Linked DNA regions of Homo sapiens: region 1 is linked to region 2. Evidence: promoter capture Hi-C in human tissues and cell types (Jung and others, 2019). All regions are on one chromosome and are shown on one strand. The core of a region is centred on a gene start or on the middle of the fragment in contact, and the rest is flanking DNA. Distances in the headings are between cores, read along the strand shown. Region 1 holds the start of SMCO1 (single-pass membrane protein with coiled-coil domains 1). Region 2 overlaps DLG1-AS1 (DLG1 antisense RNA 1).

Evidence for each region. The method cuts DNA at HindIII sites, captures the fragments that hold promoters and counts their contacts. A contact is called where the count stands out against the background at its distance.
Region 1: the fragment with the promoter of SMCO1 here is called in contact with a fragment that was not itself captured in region 2 in 1 of the 25 tissues and cell types used here (dorsolateral prefrontal cortex).

Annotation. Positions count from the first base shown.
Region 1 is chr3:196,514,096-196,516,795 of GRCh38, reverse strand. It overlaps SMCO1 (single-pass membrane protein with coiled-coil domains 1), which reads left to right and starts at 1,450. Exons shown (of 3, transcript NM_001077657.3): 1 at 1,450-1,636. The coding sequence starts at 1,587. The HindIII fragment of the contact is 4,365 bases long and covers 1-2,700 here.
Region 2 is chr3:197,302,463-197,307,973 of GRCh38, reverse strand. It overlaps DLG1-AS1 (DLG1 antisense RNA 1), which reads right to left. Exons shown (of 3, transcript NR_038289.1): 3 at 4,223-5,446. Among named protein-coding and RNA genes, the nearest start is that of DLG1, 6.6 kb to the right of the region's middle. The HindIII fragment of the contact is 5,403 bases long and covers 1,013-5,511 here.

The DNA of each region.
Region 1 (2,700 bases), core at 201-2,700, 790 kb after region 2:
AACAGCTCACATCTGTCCAAACTCCTTACCAAGCTAGCTAGAAGCATCCCCTCTCTTATAAGCCTTATGTGCTGTCTCCCTGCTAGTATGTTCCTTGAGGACAAGGATTTCGCCTTACTTATCACTATATTACCAGTGCCTGGAATAGTGCTGCTCATCCATTCGTAGGTTTTATACATTCAATTAATATCTATGATGCTCAGTAAATATTGAATAAGTGAATAAAGTATTCAGTGAAAGAACAAATACGTGACATGGCTCTTACCAGTTTAAATGGTGTGGTTATTTTCTTTTTCTTATATGAATCTTTTGCTCAAAACATACCTACTCATTGTTTCCTGAACACATCATTTACTTTGCCACCTCTGTGATTTTGCTCACACAATTTCTCCAGTTCGTAACACCCTTAACACTCTTCTCTGATAATCAAAGACCTTGACCTTTAAGGCCAAGCCAAGTACCACCTTCAGGGTGAATATCTCCCCAAGGACCCAAGATTTCAGTGACTTAGTCTCTCACCTTCTATTATTTTTATGGTCTCTATCTACTTAGCACACATCCCATATACATTTTCTATTTAAGGATATATTCTTTCTTCCCAACTAGATTTTAAATCTCATGAAAACAGCAGTCCTATTTTATTTCCACATTTATATTCAATTCCTAATCTAATATATATATAATTATATAAAATTATATATATATTTTATATACGATATAAATTATATATTATATATAATTATATGTATAATTTTATATATAATTATATATATATATATATATATATATATATATATATATATATATCCTATCCTCTTGCCCGGGCTGGAGTGCAGTGGCATGATCATAGCTCACTGCAGCTTCGAACTCCTGGGCTCAAGCAGTCCTCCCACTTCAGCCTCTTGAGTAGCTGGGACTACAGGCATGCACCACCACTCCTGGCTAATTTTTGTATTTTTTGTGGAGACAGTCTCGCTCTGTGGCCCAGGCTGGTCTTGAATTCCTGGGCTCAAGCAATCCTCCCACCTTGGCTTCCCCAAGTGCTGGGATTACAGGAGTGAGCCACCATACCCAGCCATAACAAGTATTTAGTAGTTTCTAATGATAGTTAGATTTTTTGCTTTGATATCATCATCATAAAAGATCTGGGGCACTCTTCAAACCTAATTTAGGTTGTAATTGAATAATGAAGCAGTTAAAATATGACAGTAATATTTCCATCAAACTTAATCCTATACGTTACGTTAATGTATCTGTATATACATTTACCATAATGTACACAGTCATTAATTATACATGGTTGTTGCTGTATGTTAATGTACTATGGTTCAGTTTTCAAAGGCAAATGTTATAGTGCATTCCAGGACACCTGTGTCCACGAGATAAGTTCTTTGAAACTATATTTGGATCTGCAGGCTATTAAAAGCTTCTTGTACTGAGTGACCTTTCAGGCAGAATGTAGACTGAGCGCTCCTGCTACTGCTGCCTGTTGCTGAGAGGAAGACCGCAGAAAATTCTGGATTCAAACATTTATTGCTTTTTTTGTTTTGCTTTGTTTTTGTTTTCTTTCCTTTTGCCTTCAGAAGATGAACAATGAAACCACAACCCTGATATCCTTGAAGGAGGCAATGAAAAGGTTGCTGAGGGCTATAGGGAGGGAGCAAGCATGGGTCTGCTATTCTGGGAAGATGGGTAAGAGAAGAATGAAGAATAGAAATAAAGAACTGCAGACATGCTCATTAGAATTCTGTCTCTGTGGCCGGTGCGGTGGCTCACACCTGTAATCCCAGCACACTGGGAGGCCGAGGTGGGCGGATCACAGGGTCAAGAGATTGAGACCAGCCTGGCGAACATGGTGAAACCCTGCCTCTACTAAAAATACAAAAATTACCCAGGCATGGTGGCGGGCGCCTGTAGTCCCAGCTACTTGGGAGGCTGAGGCAGGAGAATCACTTGAACCCGGGAGGTGGAGGTTGCAGTGAGCCGAGATCGTGCCACTGCACTCCAGCCTGGCAACAGAGCAAGACTCCGTCCAAAAAAAGAATTCCGTCTCTATTACAGTGGTTTAAGTCTTCCAGGCCCAAACCTATGTAAATTAACAATAAAGAAAAGTCTGCTCCCAGGTGCTGTAACTCCATTGAATGTATGCATATGCTAAATCCTAGATTTACAAAAATAAGTAAAATGTGGTTTCTGCCCTCAAGGAGCTCACAGCCTGTAGGAAAGAGAAAAGTTTGAAAAACATTTACAATTTAATGTGACTGACCTTACAATGGTGATGTTCCTAAAGGTCTATGCGAACATGAAGGGAGGATCAACCAATTTTGCCTTTGACACTAGAAAAAGGAACTCTTCATATAGGGTCATTTAAGCTGGATCTTAAAGTGCAAGTAGGAGCTTATGAGGGAGAAAAATATGGGAAGGCATTCTAGGCTGAGGAAACAGTGCATATAAGCCATATGTAAGCTTGGAACCACATAATGTATTCAAGCAGCAACTAGATGTCTCGTGTAATTGGTAACTAGGATGGGTGAGGGGACTGGTGGAAGACAGGAGCAAAGGGTGAAGGCCCTTGACTTTCCTGCTGAGGAGATCCAGTTTGCCTCTGAGTATATCACTGGGCAAGCCAGGATGACATAAACCATTTGTAATCAGTTGAGTCACAGAATCGGAATTGTGTTTTAGAAGAATGTGTCTGGA
Region 2 (5,511 bases), core at 2,465-4,964:
TGACATTTCAAAATGTAGTGGCACGCAAAGTGACTTGCCAACTTGTTTAAATCCATTCGTTTTTGTTTGTTTGTTTTGAGAAGGAGTCTCGCTATGTCGCCCAGGCTGGAGTACAGTGGCGCAATAGCTCACTGCAACCTCTGCCTGCCGGGTTCAAGCAATTCTCATGCCTCAGCCTCCTGAGTAGCTGGGATTGCAGGTACCTGCCACCATGCCCGGTTCATTTTTGTATTTTTAGTAGAGACAGGGTTTCACGATGTTGACCACGCTGGTCTTGAACACTTGACCTCAGGTGATCCACCTGCCTCAGCCTCCCAAAGTGCTGGGATTACAGGCGTGAGCCACTGTGCCTAGCCTAAATAGTGATTTTACATGGAGTTTTGTCATTAGGAGGAGGAAGAAACTTGACTTTTTCACTCTAAGGGGATCTTCTATTTGTTTCCAGGAATTTTAGGGACTCACATACATATTAAATTTGGAAAGGTTCTGAGAAGTAATTTTAAAATTGTCTATAGGCAGAACCACATTTAAATCTTCCTAGTGAGGCTGGGTGCAGTGGCTCATGCCTCCAGACCTGGCTAATTTTTGTATTTTTAGTAGAGATGGGGTTTTATCATGTTGACCAGGCTGGTCTTGAACTCCTGACCTCAAGTGATCCACCCACTTCAGTCTCCCAAAGTGCTGGGATTACAGGCGTGAGCCGCCATGTCCAGCCTCAGGTTGAAAGCCTTCTCATAATGTGTGGTGACCCTTGGTTGGCTCCTCCTGTTGAAAGCTGAGCTGATTGGAGGCTCTGTGTATATTTGAGATATTTGAGAGGCTCATTGATTGGTCTGCATTCTTTTTTTCTGACAGATTCTCACTCTGTTGCCCAGGCTGGAGTGGAGTGGCTCGATCTCAGCTCACTGCAACCTCCGCCTCCTGGGTTTAAGTGATTCTCCTGCCTCAGCTTCCTGAGTAGCTGGGACTACAGGCACCCACCACCACGCCCTGCTCATTTTTGTATTTTTAGTGGAGATAGGGTTGCACCATATAGGCCAGGCTGGTCTCGAACTCCTGATCTCAGGTGATCCGCCCACCTCAGCCTCCCAAAAGTGCTGGGATTACAGGCCGTGCCTGGCCTGGTCTGCATTCTTGAAGGGCAATAAAATGACCAGCTTGACATTTTTTTTAAGCAGCTTTATTGAGATATAACTCACACACCATACAATTCACCCATTTAAACTGCACAGTTCAATGGCTGTTAGTATATTCACAGAACTGTGAGTCCAAAACCACTGTTAATTTTAGAACATTTTTATTAAAATAAAAAAACCTCATTCCTTAGCCCTCACCTTCCAACCCCTTCCATCCCATGCTCCTCAACCCTAGGCAACAACTAATCTACTTTTTCTCTCTACAGATTTGCCTTTTCTGGATATGTCATCTAAATGGAATTTGCAGTATGTGGTCTTTTGTAACTTGCTTCTTTTACTCAGCATAATGTTTTCAAGGTTCACTCATGTCATAGCATGTATCAGTACTTCACTTCTTTATTTTGCTGAATAATATTATGTTACATGGGCGTACCAATTTTATTTTTCCATTTACCAATTCATGGGTATTTGCGTTGTTTCCACTTTCTAGCTATTACGAATAATGTTGTAATGAATATTTGTGTATAGACACGTGTTTTCAGTTGTCTTTGGTGTATACCTAGGAGTGGAATTGTCACATCCTATGGAAATTACATGTCCAAGTGTTCAAAAAACTCCCAGACTGTTTTCCAAAGTGGATGCACCATTTTACAGTCCCAGCAGCAGTGTATGGGGGTTCTGATTTCTCCACATCCTTTGCAGCACTTGTTATGATGGTAACAGCTGTGTCTTTTTGATCAGAGCCATCCTTGTGGGTGTGAAGTCTACCTCACTGTGGTTTTTATTTGCATTTTTCTGATGGCTTAGGCTTTCGTTGTAAGCCTTCCAACTATGAGTATCTACTGATCTTTCTGAGGCAATTCCATTTTTCTCTCTGAAGGGTACTCCAGCTATGGCTAGCAGGAAGAAGGAGGTGGGTGTGAGGGAGTTATCTCTGTTCAATACACAGATTTTCCCTTAGTTTCCTGTACTATAATGCACCACCATCTTCCTCTGAGTCTAGTAGTTCCAAATCTAAAACTTCTCTTATTCTCCAATAAATCAAATTCTTGCCTTTTGGAGGAGTGAGGGAAGATGGTCACCGGTCTGAATATGTGGGAGCCTGGGCATCTAAATTCCTTTTTTTTTTTTTTTTTTTTTTTTGAGATGGAGTCTTGCTCTGTCACCCAGGCTGGAGTGCAGTGGCACAATCTCAGCTGACTGCAACCTCCGCCTCCCGGGTTCATGCGATTCTCCTGCCTCAGCCTCCTGAGTAGCTGGGATTACAGACGGGCACCACCATGCCTGGCTAATTTTTGTAGTTTTAATAGAGATGGGTTTCACCATGTTGGTAAGGCTGGTCTCAAACTCCTGACCTCAAGCAATCCACCTGCCTTGGGCTCCCAAAGTGTTGGGATTACAGGTGTGAGCCACCGCGCCTAGCCACTCTTCTTTTTATTAAGGATGGAGGAACAAGTTTCTCTTTGTTCTAATATTTTTGGAGTCTTTTTCCAAGAGAAAAAAAGAATAGAGATACAGCTTTATTCTGCTCTTTTGAACCCAAGCTTCTCCAAATTATTATGGTAGCATTTCTTATTAAATATTTACTTCTCTCTTATTCTTAAATTGCTTTGTTCATCTTCATTAGTAATTGGTAAAGGCCCATCCCTTTTAAATTTTTGACTCATTGTCTCCTACTCCCTTCGAGCTTGGCTTTGTTTATTCATGTGGTAATTTGCAAGTTGAAATGATATCCAACTTGGGAAAATTTTGCAGGATTTTTAAAAAGCATATTTGGAAAAGTTTCTTCAACTGCCGCCCAATTTATTTATAAAAGGCAGAAGATGCTTTAATCACAAATATTTAATCTCAGTTGATAAAATTGTCTTGGGAAGAAATTAATTTAATCTAAAGAAAATTTAAATAGAAAGCAAGATTTAAATGATTCATTATCGTTACCGTTCTTGTGAGTGTAAAATAGAAGAAAATAATAAAGGAATTTAGGGTTATACAACATGAGGAATAGGAAAATGACAGCCCTAGTGAGTGTCACTTCCCAAAAATGAAAGACTGGCACACAGGTCTTTGTTTTGGAAGGTTGTGGCAGTTTTCCATCCTAAATGAGATTGGTCACTGGACACAGTCCACATATAATTATGAAGAATCTTCTGGCTTCTCCACTTACCAGAATTCTATTCAGGTCATATCTCAGAAATGGAATACAAATGACTTCCTAAAATTCTAATAGCATTTCTTCAAATTCCAATTAAGTTTCCAAGTTTATCTTCTCTACCTACATAAGGATAATCTGACTGAAGGGCCCTGGCCAAAGCCTTCTGTGAACAGACAATGGTCATTCTCTTGGCAGGGGGTGGGGTGAAGAGGTTGTTTCATGTAAGGAGATTTTAGTATAATCCTGAGGATTTCCATATGGGATCCTACGGTTCTGTCAATACCACAAGTTCTTCAAAAGCAGAAAAGCAAATTTGGTTAAACTTAGAAACGTATCTCTAGAAAAGATTACTAATTTCTCCTTACCCCCAGCCCCTTCTCTCTAAAAGAAAGATGGATGGTTCTGGAAATGTCAGTAGCTTTCTGCCATCAGGGAAAAGTCCTCTGATAATTGTGTGCCGACGTTGTCTGGGAGCTCTTCTGGAGCTTACTTTACGTGCTTCTCAAACATGGGGATGGGAGTTGATGGGATCTGAGGGCACTTCCAGTTTGGATGTCCCGTCATCCAGAAAACCTCTCTCATACTTAAGGAAATGAAATGAAGGAGAGAAGGAAGCTACAGGGTATTTTAAATATATACCTTTGCATTAAAAAGAAACCCAAAAAACTCCGAAACAAAAAACCAACCCGTTTAGTTATAACATACCACCAGGGTGCGGATATGCATTTCTTCAAGGCCCTATTTCCATCAAAACTGTCTCCATTGTTAAAGGCATTCAAATATATGACAAGTACACTGTACAACAGACTAGCCCATGACTTGTGCCTTATTTTATCTGAATCTCACTCAGCCTCTCTCTTTTCTCTTTCGCTTAGTCTTTCTCTATCTCTGTCTCTCTCTCACACACATATACACCACTCTGTGCCCAGTGTTTTTTGTTTTGTTTTGTTTAATTTAGAAAAGGAGCCAAGTAGAGAAAAAGCAGCATAGATTAATCGAAGAAACAATGAACTAATGTTCAGCCCAGCTCCAGCCAGCTGTGGGGTCCTAAACCAAGTTATCTCAGTTTCCTCTTCCTCTGTGCTCTCCTTTGCAAAGTGGGAGACCATAACCAACGAGTTTATCTTATCGGTTGCTGTGGACCTGCAGTGAGTTAAATCTGCCTTTGAACACTGTATGAGAGGCTATACCACTCTCCGGATAGACCAGTTTACACGGGAGGCAGTTATTAGTCCTATGCTGATTTAGTACTCCATTATACCACACTCCAGGAATCTTAGGGTGGCTCTTCCATTAAAAAGCATTAATTCAGTGCCTAACTACCTATCATGGAGATGGTCAACTGTCCACATTTTAAAGGGAATTGGTTTCAACCTGTAGCTTTTATTCTGTTAAGAATTATCTATGAGAAAGAGATCAGTCTTGGTACCACCAAAACTGGGTAGAACGAATTCTTGATGTAGACTAAAGGGTGCTAATACCATTTCAGTATTCAGCAGGGACTGAGGTTTCAACAGCTTAGAACTGTGGTCTCAGAGGTCACGTGGTTCAACCTTATGTCCTGGGTATCTACCACCCTCTGACACAGAATCCTTGCTGGCTTCATTCAGCACCTTCCTGATTAAAAAAAAAAAAAAATTTCCACTACCTTGAGGCAGCTCTTTGGAATTTTGGACAGTTTCTGACAACTCATGTTAAGGAAAAACTTCCTGTGTTTGTCCATTGGTTGAATTTTCATCCATTGACTGTACTTGCCCACTGGGTACACAGAATAAGCCTGTTTGATGACTGCAGCTCCCTGGAGACTTCTGTTTTTCCAATGAAATGGCCCTAGATTGTACAGTTGTTTCCTGATTGCTGTGGTTACTCTCTTCTTTCCACATGCTGGTTTGTTCAGATTCCTTTAAAAGCGTGCTGCTAAGCAATGCCCCCTAGGCTCTCATGGAGGTCTGACCAATATGTCCACTTTCAACATACTTGACACTGTTCCTCTTCCTGCAGCCTAAGCTGGCATAAGCTTTTTTGACAGCATTAAATCCTTTCCTTTTAGTGATTGCCTTGGCACAGGCAGCATGCTGCTACCCTGCTGGAGTGAAAGCAAAAGATGCAGCGGAGTCTGGCAGGACCTGGACACCTTCATAGATTTATAAGCTGGGGCCTAGATGGAGGAGAAGACAAAGACAGAGATGTGAAGCTGCAAAGGTGGCTTGGGCAGGATGGTTG